Regions from separate parts of the Homo sapiens genome. Here region 2 is linked to region 1. Evidence: promoter capture Hi-C in human tissues and cell types (Jung and others, 2019). All regions are on one chromosome and are shown on one strand. Each heading gives the region's core, a stretch centred on a gene start or on the middle of the fragment in contact. The rest is flanking DNA. Distances are from core to core; before and after follow the strand shown.

Region 1 (7,296 bases), core at 3,385-5,884:
ATTCTCAAATAGACTTTAGAGCATCAAGTGATAACTGAAGCTTTGATCAACAAGCCCCATAGGGTAGCAATCATGCAGGGTAGCTTCTCCAGTTTCCGAATGTACAGAGGGAGGAAAGGGCCTCATCTCCCTGAAATCTCCTCCTGGGCCCCTGACTCGAAGAATAAGTCTACTATAGGAAAAAACCAGAAGCCACTGAAATACTCTTCCTCAGAAATGAAAAGTAAGTTTTATTTCAAACCTATCAGATCCATGTTCTAGAGAATGTTAAACTCTACAGATCCATCTCAGAATCAAAGGACCATATTCATATTGACAGTTAAGCTCTTATAATGGAAGTAACCTCATTCAACTCTTCTTAGAAGTAAATGATGGACAAGTAGATAATCTTTGGCAATCCTTTCCAGTTTTGTTTACACATAGGTTTCTTTTTCCCCCTGAAGAACTAACAAGAAAAAGCCAGATTCAATTACTATGATTTGGCAGCTTGAAACAACAAACTGGTTTTTCCTGCTCCTGAGCTGAAATTTCAATTAAATAGTTTTAAAAGCTATGATGGCATAGGAACAAAATATTTGTCAAGTGACACCTGGAAACCTGCAGCTTAATTCTCTAAGCACTGAAATTTTTTTCAATATTTTAACCATTTTGAGCAGAAATTCCTTAAAAATGTCTATCAACATAGTCCCTGCCCTCTTTCTTTCTTGTTTGTTGTCTTTTCATTATTTTCTCCTGGGTTTTCTAACAACGTCTGACCTTTATCCATTAAAGTCTACCAGCTTGGCACTGTCTGAAGATATTGATCTAGAGAATGTCATTTTGTGTGCATAATGTTTGCAGCGTCAACTGCACTAAACATAATTTGATCTGGCCTTAATTTCTCTGGGGCATCATAGGGAATCCCAGTTATTGTACAATATCATAATGCACTCATGCCTTCAATAGGGTTGCCACATTTAGCAAATAAAATTACAGGACATCCAGTTAAATTAGAATTTCTGATAATCAATGAATTTTTTAAAGTATATCCGAAATATTCCATACTTCGTTGCTTATTTGAAATTTAAATTTAACAAGGCTTCTGTTTTTTTTTTTTTTTTTTTTTTTTTTTTTGAGACAGAGTTTACCCTCTTGTTGCCCAGGCTAGAGTGCAATGGTGCAATCCTTGGCTCACCGCAACCTCTGCCTCCCGGGTTTAAGCAATTCTCCTGCCTCAGCCTCCTGAGTAGCTGGGATTACAGGCATGTGCCACCACGCCCCGCTAATTTTTTGTATTTTTAGGAGAGACGGGGTTTCTCCATGTTGGTTAGGCTGGTCTCGAACTCCCAAACTCAGGTGATCTGCCTGCCTCGGCCTCCCAAAGTGCTGGGATTACAGGCGTGAGCCACTGCGCCAGGCGAAGGCCTCTATTTTATCCGACAATTCTAATTAGGTACCACTGAGACACATAGTCCTATTTGGCCCTGGCTGCCTTTAGACTATTATCTTTTTCTCATTTGAAAGAGCTGCAGACCTTGGGTACTGATTTGAATTGTTGGATGTCCAGACTTGCAGTTCAGGCTCAGCTGACATTCTTGCCCTGGTGAGCTTCTGTACCTTCCTCTTCGCCCTCTGAAGGTTGGCTGAATAATCAACTGACAAAAGTCAGATTAATAAGAGAAGAGGCAGGCTGGGCACGGTGGTTCATGCCTGTAATCCCAATACAATGGGAGGCTGAGGCAAGAAGATCACTGGAGCTCAGGAGTTTGAGACCAGCCTGCATAAAATAGTGGGAACCCATCTCTATTAAAAGTAAAAAAAAATTAGCCAGGTATGGTGGCATGTGCCTATAGTCCCAGCTACTCAGGAGGCTGAGGCAGGAGGGTTGCTTAAGTGGGAGGCTGAGGCAGGAGGACCTTGGAGGTCAAGGCTACAGTGAGCCATGATCATGCGACTGCACTCCTTCTAGAGAGAGACCCTAACTAAAAAAAAAATAAATAAAAAAAAAAGAAAGAAAAGAAAAAAGGCATAGAAATTTATTAGTGTACATGAGGAGAAATCACAGGGTGATTACTCTTATCCCCCATGTAGTACAGAAGGGTATACCATCTTTACAAAGAATGAGAGCTCCAAGCATGGCCAAAAATAGATTATGGTGGTAAATCAGGTTATAGTGGCAAAACAAGTTACGGGAGGGACAGAAGCAGAGGCCTGACTAACAAAGGTGGGTAGCAGCCCTCAGAGAGAATAGATGGTGGAAGTTTCTTTCAGACCTTTAAAAGTGTCAGAATCTCAGTAAATCTTTCCTAGATCTGGACAAGGAAGGGCCTCAGAGAAAGCCTGGCTACATTAATGCAGATTCTCCACAGATGCAAATCTGCCCTACAAGAGACAGTTTTGCAGGGCTACTGGGCTACTTTTTTTTTTTTTTTTTTTTTGAGACAGGGTCTTGCTCTATCAGCCAGGCTGGAGTACAGTAGCATGATCATGGCTTAATGTGGCCTTGAACTCCTGGGATCAAGTGATCGTCCCACCTCAGCCTCCCTCATGAGTAGCTAGGACTAAAGGCATGTACCATTATGACTGGTACATGTTTAAATTTTTATTTTTTGTAGTGATGGGATCTCAATATGTTGCTCAGGCTGGTCGCGATCTCCTGGGCTCAAGCAATCCGCTGGCCTCAGCCTCCCAAAGTCTTGGGATTACAAGCGTGAGCCACCACATCTGGCCTGCAAAGGCTACTTCTGATTGCAGGCCCTCTAAACAGTCATCTCAAAATATGTCAAAGTAGTATATTTTGGGGTAAAATATTTTGATTTCCTTCAAAGCCATTGTAGGGTTAATAATTGGCCTAATTTCAATATTGCTGTTTATTGGGAAATAGGGAGGCCCAAGGGGGAGAAGTGTGGGGAAATGGGCAGTTGGTGGAGTAGTCAGAACACACATAACATTTATTAATTAAGTTTGCCTTTCTATATGAGTGCAGTACATGGCACCTGTATTAGTCCATTTTCATGGTGCTGATAAAGACATACCCGAGACTGGGAAGAAAAAGAAGTTTAATTGGACCTACAGTTCCACATGGCGGGGGAGGCCTCAGAATCATGGCGGGAGGTGAAAGGTACTTGCTTACATGGCTGCAGCAAGAGAAAAATGAGGAAGAAGCAAAATCAGAAACCCCAGATAAACCCATCGGATTTCATGAGACTTATTCACTATCATGAGAATAGCACAGGAAAGACTGGCCCCCATGATTCAATTATCTCCCCCTAGGTCTCTCCCTCAACACGTGGGAATTCTGGGAGATACAGTTCAAGTTGAGATTTGGGTGGGGACACAGCCAAACCATATCAGCACCCCAAAACAATTACCATAGTAACATCAAAGATCATTGATCACAAAGCACTATACCAGATATAATAATGATGAACAAATTTAAATATTGCAAAAATTATTGAATATTATGTGACACAGAGACACAAAGTGAGCACATGCTGTTGGAAAAATGGCACCAATAGATGTGCTTGAGGCAAGGTTGCCACAAACCTTCAATTTGTAAAAAAAAAAAACAAAAAAACAAAAGCAATGTCTGTGAAGAGCAATAAAGCAAATCACAATAAAACGAGGCATGCTGTTATCATCATCTAACAGGCACATTTTGGTTTCAAAAAAAACTGGGCATGTATTAAGATCTAATATGTATTTTACCATCCAGGAATTTTCTCAAGACTGTATTGCAGAAAATTTTAAAACCAGTTATTCTACTCTAATACAGTTACTTATTTTTCTTCAATATCACTTTTTTTCTAAGTATGTCTCTCTTGGACATGGTTTTAATCATTTGCAATATAAAGAGACATAGGCTTAATTTATAGCAGCCCTGAGTTAACAAAAAGAGATAATCCTATTCGCTTATTTGATAATCCAGCTGAACCTGAAGTACTGATTTCAGCCTGTTCATCACCTGAATGGGCTGCCGTGGTTAGAGGGTTTCCAACACAGCTACTGGAACACTTTTAAAAGGTAATGCTGTGATCCATGCAGCCAGGAAGGGGTTGGTCCCTCATAACTCTGCAATCCTCTGGGCCCAGTTTTCTTTTTCCTCTCCCGGTTGATGACACTAGGCCCATTGGTGGTACGGCTTTGGGTTTCCTTCAGTCTCAAGATCTCAGTCAGGGTGGGTGAAGTGGAAGAACAAGCCTTCTTGCAGACCACTGGTTGGTTGGCAGCCTTTGCCATAGCTAATCTGGTTGTTTTCAGGTCAGTGACAGTCACTTTTAGGAGAGGGTTCGTTTGCTTTCAAAATCCATCTCCCCGTTCCTCTCAGGGTTCTTTGCCCCAAAGGACTTTGCCCTTCCTTACGCAGTGGACACCTTGGCACCCTCTGCAAACAGACAGTCCCGCAGAGGCCCTCGACGAGTGTCACTCCATCTGTTTCGCGCTCCTAGGAGAGGTGTAGCAGAAAGCAGTGCCCCAGGCCTCCACGCGACGGTGAAGCAGGAACCAGGGGCTGCCAGCAGAGCAGCCCAGGTGCGTCGCCTTAGGGACAGAGCTGCCAAGTGCCGAGCTGGGGCTGCCAGAGCCGAGCCGGGAACGGCATTTGCCAGAGCCGAGGCGGAAGCCGGAGCATTTGGGGGACGGGACCGCGGGAACCCGGAAACGCCTGGGCTGCACCGAGCTGGCGGTGGCTACGGCGACGGGAGCCGGCGGCGCTGCGGGTCAGCGGTCGCGTAGGACCCAGCGGACTCGGCAGCCTGGGGCGCCCGGCGGAGCTGAACCGCGGCCCCCGGTGGTGGGCTCAGCCGGTCGAGCTGCGCGGGAGGTGAGTCCTCAGCGCACCTGGGGAGGGGCGGGAACCAGGAGGCTAGCGGCTGCGGGGCGGCCCGGGAAGCTCCTGGAGGAGGAGGAAGAGGAGGCATGCGAGGGGGCTGATGTGAAGTCTGTAGGGGTGAAGGGGACGGTATCGAAGACCTGAAATACAGTGCTAGCTAAGTAGGGGTGGGAGCAGATGAGGTGACACGTTGTAACTCCGACGGACGACGTGCGGAATGTACTGGGTGGAGGAGGAAAAAAGGCCCGAGGAGAGGGGTGTGTCAAGCGAATGAAGACGGCAGTGTGTGCCTCAGCGCCTGGTGCGTGCGGAGCTAGTGACGGGTGGGCCCGGCTGGGGCCCGTCATTCCTTCAGTGAACATCCCATGAGCTCTCGCTCGGTGTTGAGCCCTGTGGTAGGCACAGATGCACCCGACCAGCACCTGGAGCTCAAGAAGCCGCAGGAACTTAAAGAAATGGAAAGGCTGCCCTTGGTAAGGCTAGTAAGAACACAAGGACTGTTTGAAGTGGGGTGAGATTCTCATCAGAACAGGTGTGTGGGTGCATTGCTTTATAGTAAAAGACGATCTTTTATTATGTTCTCTTAAATGCAGTATTTGAAAATTAAGTCTTTTCGTTTTTGAAATCAACATTCGACTTTAGTAGTTAAAGATGAAATTTGGTGCAGTTTCTTACTTGGTGTTCTTATTCACTTTCACTGGTAAACTCAGGGTGTTTCAAGGGAATGACTTGTAAACTTATATTTCTGAGGCTAACTTTCCTCCCAACTGTTGATTCTATCTCTTCAGCATCTCAAATTTAGTTCTCCCCTTTTTCATTCCCACTACCTGTCTGCTAAATATGCTCGTCTTTCCTCTTCTTACTTGCACTATAGCAATAACTTCCAAACTGGACTTGTCCTCAGCCTGGCACCCTTCCAGTCACTTGCCTCCATATTACTTTTAAAGCCAAAGATCTTATGACTTTCTTTTTTTGGTTATTCCTTCCTCAGAAATACGCAGTGACTCTCGATCGGCTTCAGAATAAAATGTAAATTATTTAGGGAGGCATTTAATAAATTTTATATTATTTAGGGAGGCTTCAGATTTTTCCTTCAGAATTTGAGTCTGACGGTGGCTCCAGTAAAATCAATATGATTCTTTTTTTTTTTTTTTAGACGGAGTCTCGCTCTGTCGCCCAGGCTGGAGTGCAGTGGCGCAATCTCAGCTCACTGCAAGCTCCGCCTCCCGGGTTCATGCCGTTCTCCTGCCTCAGCCTCCTGAGTAGCTGGGACTACAGGCGCCCGCCGCCACGCCCGGCTAATTTTTTTGTATTTTTAATAGAGACGGGGTTTCACCATGTTAGCCAGGATGGTCTCGATCTCCTGACCTCGTGATCCACCCACCTCGGCCTCTCAAAGTGCTGGGATTACAGGCGTGAGCCACCGCACCCGGCCCCCAATATGATTCTTTCTTTTTTCCTTTTATTAAACAAGTATTACTTTTTTCCACATATCCTATTTTTTAGCCAAACTAGTCGTTAATTAGACGTCCAGTTTCTGAACATGCTATATGCCTGTCAGCCTTGGTGTTTGCTTTTATCATTTCTTCCTACAAAGAAGAAACAAGGAAGGCCTTCCTTGCTGTCTTTGTAGAAATTCTACTTATTCTTCAATTCCTTAAATGCCATCTCTTTCTTATGCAGCTTTCTGAAATCTGCCATAAATCCAGTTCATTCTTTTTTTCTTTTTCTTTTTCTCTTTTTTTGAGAGAGTTTTGCTCTTGTTGCCCAGGCTGGAGTTCAATGTTGCGATCTCGGCTCACTGCAACCTCCGTCTCCCGGGTTCAAGCGATTCTCCTGCCTCAGCCTCCTGAAGTAGCTGGGATTACAGGTGCCCGCCACCACACCCAGCCAATTTTTTTGTAGTTTTAGTTGAGACGGGGTTTCACCATGTTGGCCAGGCTGGTCTTGAACTCCTGACCTCAGGTGATCCACCTGCCTCGACATCCCAAAGTGTTGGGATTACAGGCATGAGCCACTACGCCCAGCCCATTTTTTTTTCTTCATGTGTGCTGGGCTTTATAAATCTTACAACACTTGTTAAATTTGCATTGTAATTTGAGAGTTCTATTATCCCTACTGTAATGTAAGCTTCCTAAGGAAAGCATTTGTACTTACTACTTTTTTTTTTTTTTTTTTTGAGATGGAGTCTTGCTCTGTCACGCAGGCTGGAGTGCAGTGGCGTGACCCTCTCGCCTCACTGCCACCTCTGCCTTCCAGGTTCAAGAGATTCTTCTGCCTCAGCCTCTCGAGTAGCTGGGACTACAGGCGTGCATCACCACACCTAGCTAATTTTTGTATTTTTAGTAGAGACGGGGGTTTCACCATGTTGGCCAGGCTGGTTTTGAACTCCTGGCCTCAAGTGATCCACCCACCTCACCTCCTAAAGTGCTGGAATTACAGGCATGAGCCACCGCGCCCAGCCTGTACTTACTACATTTTTAAAG
Region 2 (7,296 bases), core at 2,597-5,096, 160 kb after region 1:
CAAATATATCAGCAGAACTGACAATAATCCACACTAGAAAAAAGAGCTTCTGTCTCTCAGAAGACCAGGGTATCAGGTAACACGTTGCCAGGCTTCTTCCAAAGAGCCTATTCTCTCCTAGGCCAGGTGGCCACTGATATGGAAGCCCAACTGTTTTCAGTCTCAAATGAAGTAAGTACCTTTCATAAAGATCACTTTCCAGGTAGCTACGTGTACATAGTGTGGGAGACCATCATAACAGCTAGAGCTCACAAAAAGTACACCAAAATTATGTACCAGAGAACACTGGTGAAAGAAAAACAGCATTAGTTACAAGATGATGTAAAACTAATAAAGAACTGGGCATTAAGGTTAAGAATTCATTTGAAATAAAATCTCTACTCATGTCTACTGAGGAAATGCTAAGATCCTAGAAAAATCTAAACCACTTATGCACCAAGCTAGAAAATGAAGAGGTACAGCAGGCATAAGGAATAACATGTAAGAAGTATAATATATCATCTCTACTCTGGAAAATTAGTAATTTAGGCACCTGCTCTGCCTCAGAATGCCTTGTTCTTAAGCAGCTTCTATTTAAGTACTTCCTGAAATTCACCCAGGATGCTACTTAAAAAACCAAAGGTACTATTAATACTACTAGGTCCTTGAATGTGTTCAGGGAAAGCTATGGCACACAGAAAACAGATGCTATATTTCAGTGTTTTTTGACATGGGGTCTCGCTCTGTCGCCCAGTCTAGGTTGCAGTGGCACCCTCACAGCTCACTGCAGCCTCAACCTCCCAGTCTCAAGTGATCCTTCCACCTCAGCCTCTCAAGTAGATGGAACTACAGGAGTGTGCCACCACATTCAGCTAATTTGTGTATTTTTTTGTAGAGATGGGATTTCACCATGTTGCCTACACTGGTTTCAAACTCCTGGCTCAAGCAATCTGCCTACTTCAGCCTCCCAAAGTGCTGGGATTACAGGTGTGAGGCACTGCCCTTGGCACAGATGCCGTATTTCTTAGTTCTCTGTTCCAGTGGCCCCCAACCTTTTTGGCACTAGAAACCAGTTTTGTAGAAGACATTTTTCCAAGAATTAGGGAGTGAAGGATGGTTTCAGGATGAAACTTCCACCTCAGATCAGCCATTAGATTCTCATAAGGAGCATACAGCTGAGATCCCTTGCATGTACAGTTCACAATAGGGTTTGCACTCCTATGAGACTCTAATGCCACCACTGATCTGACAGGAGGTGGATCGTAGGAGGTTACACTCGCTTCCCTGCCTGCCACTCACCTCCTGCTGTGCAGCCTGGCTCCTAACAGGCCACAGACCGTACCAGTAAGTGGCCAGGGGGTTGGGGACCCCTCCTCTATTCTATATCCTTAGTTCTGTTAATGACTCACACTTTTGAAGGTTATATGAGACTGATACTCTAAATGCCTCTCTTCAAAACGTAAAGTAAAAGATTCACAAATATCTCCCTGCAGTACTTCGGTTTATTGTTTTTACATTTATACCATGAAATGCCAATTCTACAAGGCAGCAGTGTGTGTGTGTGTGTGTGTGTGTGTGTGTGTATGACCAACAGCAATAAAATATATTTTTATATATATGTTATTATATATATATAATATGCAACTTCTAAGTGCACTGGGCAAATCTAAGGAGAATGTCACCCCACCCCACAATTTTTCACGTATGTTTTAGAAATATATGGTATAGGCCGGGCACAGTGGTTCAAGCCTGTAATCTCAGCACTTTGGGAGGCCGAGGTGGGCAGATCACAAGGTCAAGAGATCGAGACCATCCTGGCCAACATGGTGAAACCCCGTCTCTACTAAAAATACAAAAATTAGCTGGGCGTGGTGGTGCATGCCTGTAGTCCCAGCTACTTGGGAGGCTGAGGCAGGAGAATTGTTTGAACCCGGGAGGTGAGTGAGCCGAGATCGTGCCACTGCACTCCAGCCTGGTGACAGAGCAAGACTCCATCTCAAAAAAAAAAAAAAAAAAAAGAAATATATAGTATAATTATCCTTCAGTTGTTGTCTCAGTAGATTCCACCACCCTTGATTTCCAACAGTTGCAAAATAGCCTAAAATGTAAAAGCAAAATAAATGCAATAAAAGATGTCACATTCTTAAAGAACAAAACTAATTGTCTACAATGTACCGAAATGATATTTCAAAAAAGGACTAAATACCAACCTTTCTGTGAACTGGATTAGAAACTGATTGTAGTTCAATGCTCATTCTTATACTTACTCTCCTGTAGGAAAAGACATACCCAACCATCAGAAACATTCACACGAAATGAGTTATCACTATCATTTGTATTAAGTTTTCAGTCTTAAGTGACAAGACTTTCCACAGGTGTTCTCTAACTTATGAACAGAAGTTTGAAAAGCACACCGGATTTGAAGCTTAATTTCTTCTTGTTCCACTAGTGAGTAATCTAGCAGTGTTTAACCTAAAACTAAATTTTTCTCACCTGTAAAATGGGGATATCGTGAGGATTAAATGAAATAAACACTGTGGAGTGCCTAGCACTAGCCTGATATATGACTTTGCGGCCCTGATTGTAAAGTAACATCTATTGAAAGACAAACCATCAATTTAGTAACTTTTCAACTGTAAAATGGGGATGTTTTGAGGATTAAATGAGGTAAGAACCTCATATACCCTTACTGCCCTGATTCTAAAATAACATCTAGAAAGACAAACCACCAATTTAGTAACAACTTTTCACATTAAAAAATTACCATGTCATGTAATCAAACTGATTAATGAGAGACTGATTGCATTTTAAAAACTTAGTATGTGGCCCGTCGCAGTGGCTCACACCTGTAATCCTGGCACTTTGGGTGGCTGAAGCAGGCAGATCACTTGAGGTCAAGAGTTGGAGACCAGCCTGTTAACACGGCAAAACCTCATCTCTACAAAAAATACAAAAACAAGCCAGGCGTGGTGGCACCCACCTGTAGTCCCAGCTATTTGGGAGGCTGAGGTTGGAGAAATGCGGAACCTGGTAGGCAGAGGCTGCAGTGAGCCAATACTGCACCACTGCACACCAGCCTGGGCAACAGAGACCCTGTCTCAAAAAATAAAATAAAATAAAATAAAAACTTAATATGTGAAGCGATATTAGAATGCTTTGAATGTTTAAAATCAAGGAAATAACATATTCCCTACATTTATTCATACAAAAACGTATTTTCACATCCACGAATTAAATCTGCTTAATATATTCTTTATGTAATAAAACCACAGAAGTATTATCAACAAGTTTATTACACCTATTTTATCCTTGAGTAAAGTAACTTTAAGCCCTGAGAGGGAGAGACCACAGTGTTCCACATCCTATGCTGTATCTTAGAGAATCCAGAATTGGACAGAGGTATATAGGTGAAAGTGCTCATAAACATTAATCAAATAGAGCACAAATGCTTATATAATTCAGAAAATAAAGGGAGAAATTAGTAAAAAATACCTATGCACAAGTACTTCTCAAACTATTCTGCCAGAATTAAATAACAATGGCCTTTCTTTGATGTGCAGGTAGAAAAAAGTAAACTAACAAATAGAATTTGTTCAATTTTAAGTTTTTCTTCTAAGGACTTCTTTTAAACCTTTTCCACACTATTGCTTATCTACTACACAAGTAAAAAGTATAAACAGCAATTGAGTACTGATAGGAAAACTTGGAAACAGTTGATCAAGGCTAGATTCAATTGTTTAGATTTTTTAATGCTGACTTGTAATTTTATATGGGTTTAAAATGTGTCATTTTAGTTAAGTTTCTTGTTGAACATATGATTGGATGCTAAATCTCCGTTTGTACAATAAGGTTAAATGTTACCTCATAACTTGTATCTGTTTTCTGAAAAGGAACAAGAAGCACTGGTTTACACCAGAGAGAGGAAGAATTATTTTCAAAACAAGAGAATACACTGTTGCTATTTTTCTAGTATCTAAAGCAACATATGTGAAACAGATTAGAGTGTTACTCCAATTCCATTTAAGCTTTCCTGAGCTGGGCACAGTGCCTCCCACCTGTAGTGCTGGCTACTTCAGAGGCTGAGGCAGGAGGATAGCTTGAGCCCAGGGGTTCAAGTCCAGTCTGGGCAACACAGCAAGATTAAGCTTTCGTGGTGGGGTGGGGGAGGGGGGGACTCAGTTTCCGAACTTGTAAGATAAGTGGATTCAACTAGAAGGTTTGTGAAAACCTTTTTAGCTCTACATCATTATGTTTGGTTTTCATCTTCTGAAGTTTTCTCTAGTATAAATGCCATAGTGGTATGATACTGCAGTTGGTATTTAACTTTTTATGGTGCTTTACAGTTTATTTTTATTTTAATTATTTATTTATTTATTTATTTTTGAGACAGAGTTTCGCTCTGTCACCCAGTCTGGAGTGCAATGGTGCGATCTTGGCTCACTGCAACCTCCGCCTCCCAGGTTCAAACGATTCTCCTGCCTCAGTCTCCTGAGTAGCTGAGTTTACAGGGGCACAACACCACACCTGGCTAATTTTCGTATTTTTAGTAGAGATGGGGTTTCACCATGTTGGCCAGACTGGTCTCAAACTCCTGACCTCAAGTGATCTGCCCACCTCAGCCTCCCAAAGTGATAGCAGTACAGGCGTGGGCCACTGCACCTAGACGGTGTTTTACGGTTTTAAAAGTCCTGTCATACTTCATATATTTGCAAAAAGTACAAGAAGAATTCACTTATCAAAGTGTTCTTTACATAATCCTGGAAGAGTTATATTACTATGACAATTTACCAATCATATTAATGATATTGTTGCATATATTCCAAATGCCTATATACATTAGATGTTGAAAGAAAAAACGGAAGGCCTGTAAGTTAAACGAATTCCCCATGCTTAGTTAAAAAACATCCCTAGAAATATGCTGTAGAAAAATACAAGCTTTCAGAGGATACGCTAACTAAAATCACAAATCTTATTTTTTCCCTTATAATGGTTAATGTCATAAGAGCAATATAAAACAATAAAAACTCAATAAAATGTTATTTCTCATCTCAATAGATGTCGTACTCAATAGATGTCTAATACTAATGACATTAGATTTAGTTATGAGTTCTTCTAAATAAAAAGTATTCTAAACATCAGGCTTGCTTTAGCACAACTGGATTCTAGGCCATCTCTGACACCCAGTAGCTGTGCTCTTAAACTATCAATCAAACAAATAAAAGGTACTTTAAGCCAGGTATTGTGCCAGGTGCTAGGGATACAAACAGAAATAAACATGGTCCAGGGGCTTGGCACAGTGGCTCACATCTGTAATCCCAGCACTTTGGGAGGCTGAGGTGGGTGGATCACCTGAGGCCAAGAGTTCAAGACCAGCATGGGCAACATAGCAAAATCCTATCTCTACAAAAAATTTATAAAATGAGCCAGGCATGGTGGTGCATGCCTGTAGTTTCATGTACTCTGGAAGCTGAAGCAGGAGAGCTTAAGACCAAGAGTTTGAGATTACAGTAAGCCATGATTATGACACAACACTCTAGCCTGGGCAACAGAGTGACAGCCTCTCTCTAAAAAAAAAAAAATAATAATTTTTGAACATAGGATGACACAAACAAAACAAAACAAAAAAAACCATGGTCTCTGTCCTCAAATTGAGATGAGATTAATGACTTTTTGCTAGATTTGCTTCTGATTGCATTTTAGGGCTCCATGAGAGGGGAGGGAAGGGTTACCAACACTACTGAGTACCTGCCAGGTATTCTACATATATCATCTTATTTAACAATAATCTTGATAAGTAAATATTATTTATTTTACAAAAGAAGAACTTAAGGCCCAAATAATGGTTTAAGGTCACATTACAGAGCCCAAATGAAAACTCAGATCTTTCACCTACACCACACTATCTAATAACTGAATAATGGCAATTCATTTCAACTTAGGCAACTTTGAAGGGTCCTTATAGTGAAAGGATTTAAGACATACCTGAAAGTTATGAAAGAAAAAAGCATTTGAGGCACAAGGAACAGCAGGGGTAATAGTATAGAATGAGTATCAGGTATATTCAGAAGGTAACAAGAATGCTTGTATGACTTTCATATTGGAGAGATAAGCTTAGGAAACAAAACTGAAAAGGCAGATTAGTGTCAAATCATGGGTTCCAAAATTTTGCATAATTTTCCACCAGATGAAGTTCCCTGATCATTACCACTGTCCTCAACTGAATTTCCTTCTTCTCTGACTTTAGTGTACTTATATTACTTTATGCATTTGTCACACATTAATACCTAAAATTTAGTGAACATTTATTATGCTCTAGTCACTGTTGTAAGCAGTTCATATGTATAATTCATTCCATTCTCATAATACCATGAAGTAGGTACTGTTATTACCATCAACTTAAAGATGAGACACAGAGAAGGAAATTGTACAAGATCTGTCAGTAAGTGGAAGAACTGGGACTTAAACCCAGGCAATCTGGCTCCAGAGCCTGAACTCCTAATCTGTGCTATGGTGCCTGTTCAAGGAAAATCTTATTTCCCCTATTAAAATGTGAGTTCCTTGAGGGACAGAATGAAAAGAGGTTTTTGTTGGCTTTTGTTGTTGTTGGGGACGGAGAGGGGGGTGCGTATTTACATCCTCCACACTTAGGACAGTTCCTGAGACACAGCAGACATTTGCCAGTATTTGTTGAGCTGAACTGGCCTCAAATACTCAACCAAGGCGTCTGGGCTGGGCGTGGTGGCTCACGCCTATAATCCCCGAATTTTGGGAGGCTGGGGTGAGAGGATCACTTGAGCCCAGGTGTTCAAGACCAGCCTGGGCAATACAGGGAGACCCCGTCTCTTTTAAATTAAATTAACAACAAAAAAAAGCCAGGCGTGGTGGTATGCGCCTGTAATTGCAGCTACTCAGGAGGCTAAGGTGAGGGGAACCCTTGGGCCCAGGAGGTCAAGGCTGCAGTGAGCTGTAATCGTGCTACAATACTCCAGTCTGGGCAACAGAGCGAGACTCTGTCTAGAAAAAAAAAAAAAAAGAGAGAGAGAAAGAGAGAGAGTCTGGGTTGTTCTTCCTATAGGTCAAGGATCACCAAATTATTCTGTAAAGGGCCAGATAGCAAATATTTTAGGCTTTGCGGGCCATAAGGTCTCTGTCACAATTACTCATCTCTGCCCTTCCTGTGCAAAAGCAGCTACAATATGTAAACAAATGAGCATGGCTGTATTCCAAGAAAAGTTTATTTACGAAAACAGTGAGCCAACTGGCCCATGTGCTCCAGTTTGCTGACCCCTATTATACAGATAATAGGAATATATTAAA

Evidence for each region. The method cuts DNA at HindIII sites, captures the fragments that hold promoters and counts their contacts. A contact is called where the count stands out against the background at its distance.
Region 2: a contact is called between a fragment that was not itself captured here and the fragment with the promoter of SLC35A3 in region 1, in 1 of the 25 tissues and cell types used here (hippocampus).

The regions. Positions count from the first base shown.
Region 1 is chr1:99,965,362-99,972,657 of GRCh38, forward strand. SLC35A3 (solute carrier family 35 member A3) reads left to right here and starts at 4,635. Exons shown (of 8, transcript NM_012243.3): 1 at 4,635-4,801. All of the region lies in intron 1 of LOC124904230 (a long non-coding RNA gene), which reads right to left. RefSeq lists enhancers at 4,115-4,164, 4,225-4,274, 4,995-5,084 and a silencer at 4,675-4,874. The HindIII fragment of the contact is 9,355 bases long and covers 1-7,296 here.
Region 2 is chr1:100,123,693-100,130,988 of GRCh38, forward strand. It overlaps SASS6 (SAS-6 centriolar assembly protein), which reads right to left. Exons shown (of 17, transcript NM_194292.3): 2 at 2,190-2,250. Among named protein-coding and RNA genes, the nearest start is that of SASS6, 5.6 kb to the right of the region's middle. RefSeq lists an enhancer at 7,196-7,245. The HindIII fragment of the contact is 5,984 bases long and covers 855-6,838 here.